2 separate regions of the Homo sapiens genome follow, and region 1 is linked to region 2. Evidence: promoter capture Hi-C in 16 types of primary human blood cells and fetal thymus (Javierre and others, 2016). All regions are on one chromosome and are shown on one strand. Each heading gives the region's core, a stretch centred on a gene start or on the middle of the fragment in contact. The rest is flanking DNA. Distances are from core to core; before and after follow the strand shown.

Evidence for each region. Contacts are between HindIII fragments. The CHiCAGO score rates a contact against its expected background, and 5 or more counts as called.
Region 1: a fragment that was not itself captured here is called in contact with the fragment with the promoter of GFOD2 in region 2 in 1 of 17 cell types (erythroblasts); the score reaches 5.1 in erythroblasts.

The regions. Positions count from the first base shown.
Region 1 is chr16:68,050,905-68,057,436 of GRCh38, forward strand. DUS2 (dihydrouridine synthase 2) reads left to right here. Exons shown (of 17, transcript NM_017803.5): 5 at 2,660-2,751; 6 at 3,670-3,713; 7 at 5,460-5,520. Among named protein-coding and RNA genes, the nearest start is that of DUS2, 31 kb to the left of the region's middle. The HindIII fragment of the contact is 1,675 bases long and covers 890-2,564 here.
Region 2 is chr16:67,718,040-67,724,615 of GRCh38, forward strand. It overlaps GFOD2 (Gfo/Idh/MocA-like oxidoreductase domain containing 2), which reads right to left and starts at 1,277. Exons shown (of 3, transcript NM_030819.4): 1 at 1,124-1,277. RANBP10 (RAN binding protein 10) reads right to left here. Exons shown (of 14, transcript NM_020850.3): 14 at 5,031-6,576. RefSeq lists an enhancer at 595-674 and silencers at 1,035-1,084, 1,145-1,194. The HindIII fragment of the contact is 1,149 bases long and covers 324-1,472 here.

The DNA.
Region 1 (6,532 bases), core at 477-2,976, 330 kb after region 2:
ATACTTCTTACTGCCAGTCATGAGCTGTCTCTGTCAGTGATCACTTTGATTACCTCTCTCAACATGTCATTGCCTTTATCCCACCCTAAAAACCTTCTCATCTGTTTAGTGCTGGATGATAATAAAACCATCCATGTATGGAAATACTTTAAGTGCATCAAAGATCTCATTTATTTCTCAAGACAGCCTTTGAGGTAGGCATATTCTCCCATCTGCCACGTTCAGTCTTTTTCATGTATAGTGATCTTTGAAAGCTAGTAATGGTAGCACCTATTGTGGAGCTTCTTTAGGAAGCTGACAGATAAAATACAGTTGCTTCTCATTATGCACCGTTGTTGTTTCTATAAAGTTGCTTTAAACATCAAATGAGCGGATACTGAACCATTGACCCTGGGGTAAACAAAGGGTTAGGTTTGTGCAAGCCTCTGGTCATATTTTCATCAACTTGTCAGTCCATAACTTTGTTTTATGTGTGTTTCTTTGTTTTTGTTTGGTTTCTTTTTTGTGACCAGGTCTCACTCTGTTGCTCAGGCTGGAGTGTACTGGTGTGACCATAGCTCGCTGCAGCCTCAAACTCCTGGGCTCAAATGATCATCCTGCCTCAGCCTTCCAAGTAGCTGGGATTTCAGGTGCACACCTCCATGCCCAGCCAATTTTTAAATTTTTTGTAGAGATGGGGGTCTTGCTATGTTCCCCAGCTGGTCTCAAACTCCTGGCCTCAAGTGATCCCCCTGCCTCAGCCTCCCAAAATACTGGGATTACAGGACTTAGCCATCACACTGGCCATGTGTTTCTGTTTAAAGGCATATTATTTAATATATACCATTGATTCACTTAACATTGAACCCACTAACATGGGTAATAGTGCTATAATTTCATGCCGAAACAAAGCTTATTCAAGATGTGTATTTTCTCTGTAAGTCCCATGACCGTTTTCTTGTGCTTAGGAACATTAGATAGCATTTCAGCAGTATGGTTGGGACCATTTTATTTTATTTATTTTATATTTTTTGAGATGGAATCTTACTCTGTAGCCCAAGCTAGAGTGCAGTGGCGTGATCTTGGCTCACTGCAACCTCCGCCTTCCCGGCTCAAGAGATTCTTGTGCCTCAGCCTTCCAAGTAGTGGGGACTACAGGTGTGTGCCACCACACCCAGCTAATTTTTTTTTTTGTATTTTAGTAGAGACTTGAGTTTCACCATGTTGCCCAGGGTGGTCTCGAACTCCCTAACCTCAGGTAACCCACCCGCCTCGGCCTCCCAAAGTGCTGGGATTACAGGTGTGAGCCACCGCACCCAGCCACTTGGGACCATTTTAAACAGTGAGATCACCAACAAAAAGCATAGACATGCAGAAATGTGGCATGAAATATACCACAAAAGGGACACTTGTTGACAGTATGAGAGCTGAAGGGAGAAGACAGAGCATCACCTTGTTTGACCTCAGCTGGGAACATGCACATCAGGCAACTCAAAACTTTCACCACTCTGTTCCTGTCCTTGGATGACCATGAAAACATCACAAGTATTGATTTTGGGGTCACAAATAAATGTTAGCAAATAGGCACATTTGCAAATATGCAACTATGAATAGTATAGGAGATTGATTGTTATATAGTAACCTTCCACTCATAGCACCTGTCTCACTGTAAGTAAATAGTAAATTTGCTGAACTTCAGAGTGATGTTTTCTGGGAAAATTTGGGCCAAATCTGAAACATAGACAAACTTCCATGTATGGACTTTTTTTTTTTTTTTGAGACAGAGCCTCCCTCTGTTGCCCAGGCTGGAGTGCAGTGGCGCGATCTCAGCTCACTGCAATCTCTGCCTCCCAGGTTCAAGAGATTGTGCTGCCTCAGCCTCTTGAGTAGCTGGTATTACAGGCACCCTCCACCACGCCCAGCTAATTTTTGTATTTTTAGTAGAGATGCGGTTTTGCCATGTTGTGTAGGCTGGTTTCAAACTCCTAACCTCACATGATCCACCTGCCTTGGCCTTCCAAAGTCCTAGGATTACAAGCGTGAGCCACTGCGCCCGGCTATGTATGTACATTTTGTTTCAACATTTTTTTTTTTTTCGAGACGGAGTCTTGCTCTGTCGCCCAGGCTGGAGTGCAATGGCGCGATCTCGGCTCGCTGCAACCTCCGCCTCCCAGATTCAAGCGATTCTCCTGCCTCAGCCTCTCGAGTAGCTAGGGTTACAGGCATACCCCACCACGCCTGGCTAATTTTTGTATTCTTATCAGAGACGGTGTTTCACCATGTTGGCCAGGCTGGTCTTGAACTCTTGACCTCATGATCCGCCCGCCTCGGCCTCCCAAGGTGCTGGGATTACAGGCGTAAGCCACCATACCCGGCCCGGTTTTAACATTTTAAACGTTGCAAAATGTTAACCACCATTCAGAAAAAGTGCATTAAACACAAACATGCAGTTTCACAAGTAATTGCAAAATGAACAACCATCACCCAGGTCAGGAAATAGACCATCCTCATCATCACAGAAGCCTCCCATGTGCATAGTTATTTTTGGTAAGAATGGTATACATTTAGGATCTCTTTCCCCTTGAAGCTTATACTCTGGCTGTGTTTTCTTCCAGGGCTTAGGCTAGCGTTGAACTTGCATCTTCATTGAGTGACCCTATGTGTTTGGGTTTTCTTGCAGAGGTGCTCAGCACAGTGGACTTTGTCGCCCCTGATGATCGAGTTGTCTTCCGCACCTGTGAAAGAGAGCAGAACAGGGTGGTCTTCCAGATGGTGAGAGACTCCATTGCTGCATGCCCTCCTGAGGCTCACCATCCCCTGGGATTTCCCAACTCATGCCCTGTGCCAGGCCAGTGTTGAATACCTGGGGTACATTGTACAACGATGGCTTCCTGAAGATTCTGCTTTAATGTTTTCCAAAGAGCCAGTCATGAGTAATTATACTATTGGAGACAGTTTATGGAAATCAAGCTATCACAGTCTTATATGTCTCTAGTCTCAAATTTAATTTACTTACTTGTAGGAATTGTCTGTTTGGCATGATTTCTCTATTTTTTTATCCCTAGCATTGATTACTCAGATCATAGTCTTTGTTTTTATGTAGTGTGTATATATTTCTCATAGAAAAATATTAGGATTTTTCAAGAGTAGTTAAGATTTGTATTTGAGTTGTGATGACTCTATAGTGCCCTTCTCTCGCTTTGGGCATTTCTTGGTGCTTTTTCAGAAACATCCTTAATGATGTTTAGGTTTCTAAAAAATTGTTAACAATGGGTAACCATGTGATAAAGCAAATCTAGCAAAATGTTAATTGTAGAATCTAAATGGTGAGTGTTTGAATGGTCACTATAAGTTAACAATGGGTAACCATGTGATAAAGCAAATCTAGCAAAATGTTAATTGTAGAATCTAAATGGTGAGTGTTTGAATGGTCACTATAAAATGTTTTCAAGTTTTTTATATGTTTGAGTGTAATCATAGTATAGATAACATTTTCTAGACCTTCCAAGTCCACCTTTTTCTGCTGGCAGTGAGCTAGTCTAGTGGGCTGGCTGTTTAAGAGAAAGCCAGCCTGACTCTGTTGTTGGTGTGTGGGGTGTGTGTGTGTATGTGTGTGCTGCATGGGTGTGTTTGTCAGTGCATGTGTATCTGTGTCAGGGCAGTGGTTGATGCAGCCTCTTGTGTTCCCAGGGGACTTCAGACGCAGAGCGAGCCCTTGCTGTGGCCAGGCTTGTGTAAGTTCATCCTCTGTCTTTAGCACTGCCTTTGCCTCTCCTTTGAGCTGTGAGGGTTTAATGTCCTGGTGACTTTGTAGGTGACTCACCCTTCTGCCTTCTAGCCCATTACCTTCTGTTTCCAGGTTAAGAGTGCCTGGTTTCCAGCCAGGTGCGGTGGCTCATGCCTGTAATCCCAGCATTTTGGGAGGCTGAGGCAGGTGGATCATGAGGTCAAGAGATCGAGACCATCTTGGCCAACATGGTGAAACCCTGTCTCTACTAAAAATACAAAAATTAGCTGGGTGTGGTGGCGCGTGCCTGTAGTCCCAGCTACTCAGGAGGCTGAGGCAGAAGAATCGCTTGAACCCGGGAGGCAGAGGTTGCAGTGAGCCGAGATTGCGCCATTGCACTCCAGCCTGGTGACCAAGCGAGACTCTGTCTTAAAAAAAAAAGAGTGTCTAGTTTCCTTCTCTTTGTGGCATCCAAGGGCTGGCCTGGGACTCATGTGTACCTACAGTGCCTAGATCTCAGAGACCCTCTATGCATATTGGGGGGAGCTGTTTTTTTGTATTTATTCGTGAAACTCCTTCCCAGGGACTCCCATGACTATGAGTCCTGAAGCTTTAAGTATCAAAGTATAGGTAAGACATATTGCTTCCTGAATTAACATAGATAGGAAGCCTGGGGAACATAGGCAGAGCTCATCTCTACAAAAATGGTGGTGCATGCCAGTGGTCCCAACTACTTGGAAGACTGACGTGGAAGGATCACTTGGGCCCAGGAGGTCGAGGCTGCAGTGAGCCTCCATTGCGCCACTGGACTCCAGCCTGGGGAACACAGTGAGACCCTGTCTCAAGAACAAAAACAAAGGCAGGAGAGTGCTATAGTTAATGTGATAGGTTTTGAAGTTAAGACAGACCTGGTTTGCAATTCTGGTTTTGCTACTTGTTAACTGTGTGACCTGAGATAAGTTGCTTAACCTCAATGAGAACCTAGTTTTCTCACCTATAAAATAGTGCTACCAACCTCTGGCATAGGGAAGGGTAAATGAAATAATGCCTGTAAATGTCTTTGCAGCATGTGGCACATACTGACATCTTAGTAAGTGTTAGCTATCGTTATAATTACAAAGAGTGAGTGGGAACTCAGGCAGTTATTGCTGCTGATCACGGACTATTAACTATGTATTACTATTTAGGTTGGTGCAAAAGTAATTGCGGTTTTTGCCATTACTTTCAATGGCAAAAACCGCAATTACTTTTGCACCAACCTAATACATACCAGAGGACGGAGTGAGGATTCTTTTGACATCTAAGAATTGTTTGGATTAAACCATCTGTGCAGCCCAGCCAACAAAGGCAGTGCTAGAACTTCCACCAGAAGCTGTCGTCTGGCAAAGGGCTCTTAGGCTCATGTCACTTTTCTGCATTGACAAATGGCTTTTACTATTTCAGCCGAGTTCAGTGTGCCCATCTGAGTTATCTGATACAACTCCAAAGTAGCAAAGCCCTCTTCATCTAGCCCTTTATAGATGTGTGCACACATTATGTCTTTTCTCTGGATTTCTGCTTAGATGAGGCAGGTGCACGTTTTAAGGATGGGTTTCTTTCCCATTTTTCAGCTTCTGTCATTGGGGGTTGGTGTGTTTCATAGAGTCAGGGACAGGGTAAGAGGTTCATGAGCACAGGCCCATCCATGCCTTTAATTTCACCTTCTTTGCTCTAATTCAATACTTATTACCTTTACTCCTTCATCCTTTTCCAGAGAAAATGATGTGGCTGGTATTGATGTCAACATGGGCTGTCCAAAACAATATTCCACCAAGGTAAACTGGTTTCTTTATACTCCTCATAAACATAGGATGCAGATTAAGAGGCTGACAAGACATAACTAAGTATAGTACCTAACTCTGGACTGGATTCTGTACTAGATGGGGAAAATGCTCAAAAAGATATCGTTAGATGAACTGACAACATTAGAATAGGGACCATAGTATATTAGCTAAATATACTGTATCAATGTAAACTTATGAAGATAACTTCTGTGGTTATGTAACAGAATATCCCTGTTCTTAGAGAATACACACTGAAATATTTAGGAGTAAGGGGCTATGATATATGTAATTTACCCTCAAGTGGTTTATACATATACACACACACTCATATATCACACACACATACATATATAGATTCATACATAGATTATATATATTTTATTATATATTATATATAATGTTATATATTATATAATGTTATATATTATTTATATGTTATATAATATATAGGTATATTATATTACATATATATTTATTCTATATAATATAATAATACACATATATGTAATTATATGTAATCTATAATTATATATTACACATATAAATATATACAATAAATATATAAATATATAATATATAATTATATAATACATATAAATATATGTAATATATATTTATATATATATGTAATATATATGTTATAAATATATAATATATAATTATAGATTACATATATTATATATTACATATATAAATATATAATAAATATATAAATATATAATATATGTAGTATATAAAATAAATATATAATAAATATATATTACATATATAAATGTATATAATTGTGTATGTGTATAGATACATATATATATATAGAGAGAGAGAGAGAAAGAGAGAGAGAGAGAGAACTCATGCCCAAGTAATAAAACAATGCAAAGGTACAGAGAAAAATAGAGGGGACAGGGCTGTGTCTTTTCATGAATAAGACTGAGACACATATCCCAGAAAGCCCAGAGGAGGATTATAAAAAAAAAAAAGGGAAAACAACTGAGACATACATTTA
Region 2 (6,576 bases), core at 27-2,526:
TTGTTCTCTAGTGTAGCTTTCCAGAAGGAAATAAGTTTCCTTATCAAGAATGAATCTAGCTTCCCCGACTCAAAAACAACCATCTTCTCTATATTGCTCCATATCACAATAAATTTAAGTGCCTTCCTTTTCTAAATTAAATGCTGTTCCCTTCAACTTAAGGGCCACACACTAAGGGCTATTCCTTTAGAGGCTTTTGGGCCCCACAGATCACAAAGGTGGTGCCCTGCCCTAGTTCTTTCTGGACATTTAAAAGGACATCCACTTTCTTGCCCTCAGGATAACATTATGGGAACAATGAACATAAATAAGACAGTTAAATAAGCTTCCCTGATGCCTATCCAATACAGCTTTCAACTCTTCTATCCTGCCTTGTTCTTTAGATCGTGCTGTAGTCTGGAGGGTAAACTCTTCACACAACCATTCCCAAGCCCTCATGTCCCTGTCCACTCTTCCTCCCTCACCTTTTAAGTGTGATAGGGCCTTGATGGGAAGACCTCACTTCACCTTTTGTCTCAAGTCCATCTGCTTCCTTCCAGAGCTACAAATACAAAGGTAGGCCAGGGCCATTGAGACGTGGCCATAGGGCACATGGGAGCTGGCAGAGCCACTCGCACCTTCTGGGGTGTCCCTTCTTCCACCTGTCAACTGAACACCCGTTTCTTAAAGATTTATCCCCAAAAGTCCCATCTCATTCTGAAAGGGGACGAACCAGCTACCCCACGAGCCCTTTGTCTGAGCTTCTACACCTCACACATCCTCATCCACAAAGCGTCCATCCTCACACAGTCAGGTGGTCCGCTCGGCACAGGGCGGGGGAGACTAGGTTTTTGCATCTGGTAAAAGGATGGGTTATGTCTCAGGTTCTTCCAGGATCCCAAATCCTATAATTCTACCACCAAGCCTGCGGGTCCTATTTCTGCGGTGGAAAGGGCGAATCCCAAGGCGACCCTCCACTCCACGCGCCTGCAGGCAGTTGGAACAAGCCCCCTCCAACCCCGGCTCTGCGGGTCCACGCCTCCAACCTCCGGCGCCGGGCCGCGGAGAAGGCCCTGTCGGCGCCCGCTCCCGGCCGCGCCATGCCCTCTTTCGCCCTCACCCGCCACCGGTGGCCGCCTCTCACCTGGCACGCTGGCATCGCCCACTCCGCGCTGCACTGGAAACCATGGGTCCGACGGGGTCTCGGGGGCCACCCATCCGCCTTAAGGAAGGCTGGCGGGGATGCGCGGGCCCGGGAGTCCAGGGCGCCGCCACCGGGAACGCGCCGCCTGGTTTCTAAGGAACTGGGGGCTCTGGAAAGGGAGGGGCGGGACGGCAGGAGGACTGCGCATGCTCCATAACGGGGATGGGCCTGCGCTGGGAGGGGCCGTAGCCGGGAGCTGCGCATGCTCGCTTTTTGGGGGCGGAGCTTAAGCAGCCTGGCTAGGAGGCTCAGGTTATTCATTTCCGGCGGCGGAGGCGGCAGTTTCCTAAGCTTGGCTTCTCTCCGGTCCGCTGACCGGCGTCAGGGACCAGGTTTTGGTAGCTGTGGGTAGCCTCAGTTGTCCTGGAATGAAAGACGGTTTCGTGTTGGACAAGGACATATCTGCAGAAGGCCAGTTCTCTCGAACTCGTCGGACTTCCTGGCTCCCTGACCCCCAGTGACTCGTTTTTCCGTTTTCTCAGGTGCCTGTCTGGGCTCCTCTTCCTCTGGATGTTTTTTGATTGTTCCTTAAATATCAGTGCTCTTCAAGACTGTAACCTCAGTCCCCTTGGCCTCTTTACTGAAGCCTATGCCCCACCAAATAGCAAACTATCCGCTAGAGTAAGGAAGCCGTTAGACCTTAGAATAAAACTGCCTGTGTAGGAAATGTGATTGGGGTTTGTATCTGCATGGGGAGCCCCCGTCCCTGCTTGTCTGACCCTCCTGCTGAGTATCAAGATCCCCACTCAGCTGGCATTAGGATGATCTCCCAGCCATCATTCCAGAGCAGCCTGTGGTGACAGAATATGTCAGCTGACCTAAGCGTGAGGCAGTTCCTACTGAGATATGCTAACTAGCAGCAGAGCTATCCCTGCTTTGAGCGGAGACAGGACTCCTACCACCTCTGTGAGGAGCATGGAAGGCTTCCAAAGTGATGAGAAGTTGTAACCCCTAAACCCCCCCTCTTCTGATGGGATTTTATCCTTTCTCTCCTGGATCCTCTAGAGCCAGGCAGAAGGAAGGCAGAGTCAAAATGTGCCTGTTTGATCTGTTTCTTAGTCATTGTTCGGAGTTCCACTCTTCTTGAGTAGGATTTCTCAACAGTGGCACTATTGACATTTTGGACCTGATAATTCTTTGTTGGGCAGGGGTGGGGGGAGCTGTCTGCATTGTAGGATGTTTGGCAGCATCCCTGGCTCTACCCAGTAGATGCCAGTAGCACCCCAAGCCCAGTTGTGACTACCAAAAATATCTCCAGACATTGCCAAGTGTCTCCCTGGGAGCAAAATCATTCCCAGTTGAGAACCACTAGTCTAGGGGGAAATGAGCCTACTCTGGCTTTACTTATATAGAACCAGGACTTTATGCTTAATCTAAAACCCATATTTTCCCCTTTATGCTACCTCTTCCCTAAGAGCATTCTATAGAGTAATAGTCCTGTAAGATTCTGCTGAGTGACACAGTCTGTAGTAACTTAAGTTTGGAAAGTGCAGGGTTAAGCAACACATTTTAACACAGGATTGAGCTTTTAATTAGCTGGTGGCGATCACTGTGAACATCCATAAGACAGTTTTCCTAATTTACTGGACCACCTCCCAATTCCAGTGACTTTTTTACTGGCAAACCTCCCCTAATTTACTGGCAAACCTCCCAATTCCAGTGACTTTTAGCCACTGCCTGCCCCCTTCTGTTCTGTGTTATTTTGTGGTACTATTATCCATCCCATCACCCCCAACCAAAGTCTGCATTTGCCTTGTCTCTTGCTTCTCCTATTTCCCTCACATTCAGTTATTCATCTTGTACCTCCAATTCTCTCCTAAATCTTTCTCAAACCTGCCCTCTTTGCAGCCTCCTACCTGGGTTCTTTTGCTCCAATTTGTCTCCAGTACCACCTTCAGGTGGACACCAGCATGATCTACCGTATCCCTCCTCTGCATAAAACCCTGGTGCCTCGGGGACAGGGCAGGCAGGAGTGGGCCAGTCACACCACTGGGCATCCTCATGGAGGAAGGATGCTCATGTGTACTGTGTGTATCCCTGTGTGCCAAACACTGCTGTATATCTGCCATAATCCTCTACCTCCACGGGGCAGAAGGATTTACCATGTTTTAAGGATGGGGAAACAGTCTCGGAGAAAGAGGTTAACTTTCCATGTTAACACAGTAAACGGTGCGAGGATTTTGAAACAAGCTCTTGCTCCTCAGGCAAGAGACAGGAAGCTAATTTCAATACCCGTCAGGCTGGGTGCCGTGGCTCACGCCTGTAATCCTAGTACTTTGGGAGGCCAAGGCAGGAGGATTGCTTGAGACCAGGAGTTCGAGACCAGCCTGGCCAACATGGTGAAACTTCTCTATAAAATATACAAAACTTAGCCAGGCATGGTGACACATACCTGTAGTTTTAGCAACTTGGGAGGCTGAGGTGGGAGGATCACTTGAGCCTGGGAGGTTGAGGTAGCAGTGAGCCATAATCATGCTACTGCACTCCAGCCTGGGAGAGAGAGCAAGACTTTGTCTCAAAAAAAAAAAAAAAAAAAAAAAACCCAAAAACAAACTCTCAAAAGAGGTACCCCCAGAAAACTTTCTGACTGTGCAGTATTTGAGGCGAGCATATTTGGAATTTTATTTTTTATTTTTTTAGGCAGGGCCTTGCTCTGTCATCCAGGCTGGAGTGCAGTGGCGCAATCATGGCTCACTGCAACCTCAACCACCCAGGCTCAAGCAATCCTCCAGCCTCAGCCTCCTGAGAAGCTGGAACCACAGGCAGACACCAACATGTCCAGCTAATTTTTTCTATTTTTTGTAGAGGCAGGGTCTATGTTGCCCAGATTGGCCTCGAATTCCTGGGGTCAAGCGATCCTCTTGCCTTGGCCTCCCAAAGTGCTGGGATTACAGGCGTGAGCCAATGCACCTGGCCCTGGAATGTTTTTGTTGTTGTTGTTGTTGTTTTTGAGATGGAGTTTCACTCGTCACCCAGGTTGGAGTGCAATGGTGTGATCTTGGCTCACTGAAATCTCTGCCTCCCAGGTTCAAGCGATTCTCCTGCCTCAGCCTCCCTAGTAGCTGGGATTACAGGCGCCCGCCACCACGCCTGGCTAATTTTTGTACTTTTAGTAGAGACGGGGTTTCACCATGTTGGCTAGGCTGGTCTCAAACTCCTGACCTCAGGTGATCTGCCTGCCTTGGCCTCCCAAAGTGCTGGGATTACAGGGTGAGCCACTGCACCTGGCTCTGAAATGTATTCTTAATACCTTATTTTTGTGGGGAAAAGTTCCTGTGGCCCACCTTTATTTAGTTGAATTTTTTTTTTTTTTTTTTTTGAGACAGGGTCTCACTCTGTCACCCAGACCGGAGTGCAGTGGTATGATCTCAACTCACTGCAGCCTTGACCTCCTGGGCTCGAGTGATCCTCCCACCTCAGCCTCCTGAATAGCTGGGACCACAGGAATGCGCCCCCATGCCCAGCTAATTTTTGTATTTTTTGTAGAGATGGGGTTTTGCCATGTTGCCCAGGCTGTTCTCGAACTCCTGAGCTCAAGGGATCCACCTGCCTCAGCCTCCCAACGTGCTGAGATTATAGGCGTGAGCCACTGTGCCCAGGCTCTTTAGTTGAATTTGCTACTTTTTCCTTGTATAAGAAGAAAGCCGTTTCAAGAGAGAACTGAGGTTTAAGTACCTGTCCTCTTTGGGGTCTTACAAATACACAGTTTCAAAGGTCCTTGAAGAAGGCACCTGAGGGCCTGGGCACTTGAGAGGCTGGGAAGGGCCCAAATCCTTTAGGACAGGATGTGTCACAGAAGGGGTGCCAACCTCAGTAAGACTCAAAACAGAGACCAGACACACATGACTGCTCATGGATGTGTATTTTAATAAAAATAATTCTGTCAAAATACAACAGAGTTTTTTTTTTGTCTCTCAAGTACAATTTTAATAAGATGTTTTGTGTTAGAGTTCTCTCTCCATCCTCCCACACCCACAAGTTTCATGCTAATGCCAAGTATCAACTCTTGAGGACAAAGGCAAAACCAGTGTGCACAATGTGGAGGATGTCTGTTGCAGCTGTAGTTACTAATGCAGGAAAACCCAATGCAAAGAGGAAAATGCCTGAGGCAGCCAGAGGCCACAATCTGGCCACAGGTCTGGGTGCATGAGACTGGCAGTCTAGTAGGGCTCCGCTGCCTGGCTGCCACATGGGTGCATACCTGAGTTGTGAGCAACCAAAGGAACTTTCAGCTCTGACAATTCTCTGCCTCATCTTCTTTGTGCTTGCTTAAGGAGTGGGAAGGCGCTAGGTGGCCAGGCAGTCCCCACTTCTGTCTCGTGGTGTCCATTTTGATGGCCTGCACCCAGCCACAGACCCATGAGGATGGGGATGGGGGTTCTGGCTTGCTATGAGTGCCAGTTTTTGCTCTGGAAGGAGTGACCATTTGGTGCCGCAAGGGGAAAGTGAGTAGGGAAGGCTGCTCCCCAGGGCCGGACAAACCAAGAAAGCCAGGTCTTCCTCCTGCCTCCATGGGTCAGGTCCAGCCCTTCACCAGGGCTCCCCCAGGTGCCTTTCCCACTCTAGGCTCCTGGAAGCAGGCTGGTAGGACTGGATGTGCATAAGGGGCACCTCTGGCTGGCAGGCAGGCAGGCCTGGACTCTCAGCAAGAGAGTGGGCTCAAGCAGCTTGGTTTTGGCCCTCTCCACAGCTTGTGGGGCAAAGGCTTATGTCCCAAAGGTGAGCTGCCCAACTGGGACAGAGAGCCCCTCTGGAGAGGAACAGAGTAAACAACTTGGACTCAGCTGAAACAGTGAGATAAGGCACAGAAAATGGGGAGGTGGCCATGGGTACCAAGTGCGAGCCAGGCAGACACCCAACCCCATGCAGCACACAGCTGTCCCGAGCCCTCCTGGGCCCTCTCAGCCACTCCACAACCTAAGCTCAGGCACCCGTCCTCATCCCTGACACACCCCTGAAGGTAGCAGCTTCTCAGATACTGCTGGAGGGCACATCAGCCTGACCCCTCATGGGGTTTATCTGCCATTCGGTTTCAGGACTAAATAGTGTTGCCCAACCCACAGGGATAAGGGATAGTCCCGGCTCTGCTACTAATTTGCTATGTGACTTTAGCCAAGTCACTTAATCTCCTGGGCCTGTTTCCTTATTTGTAGCAAGAGAGGAATGGGGGAGATGTTCACTGAACCCCATTCCAGCTGCAAAAGCCTGTGGTTTTAATCCAATCCTGCTAGGCTATGATCATTTAAACAGCCTGATGTCTCCAACTTCTGGGTTTGGGAGCTAGGTAGCCCCAGGCTGTCACAAGAGATGAATTTCCTTTACAGACAGGACGCCTCCTAACAGGCCATGGTCTATGGGTCTGCCAGCCCCAAGGACCAAGAAAAAGCAGCAGC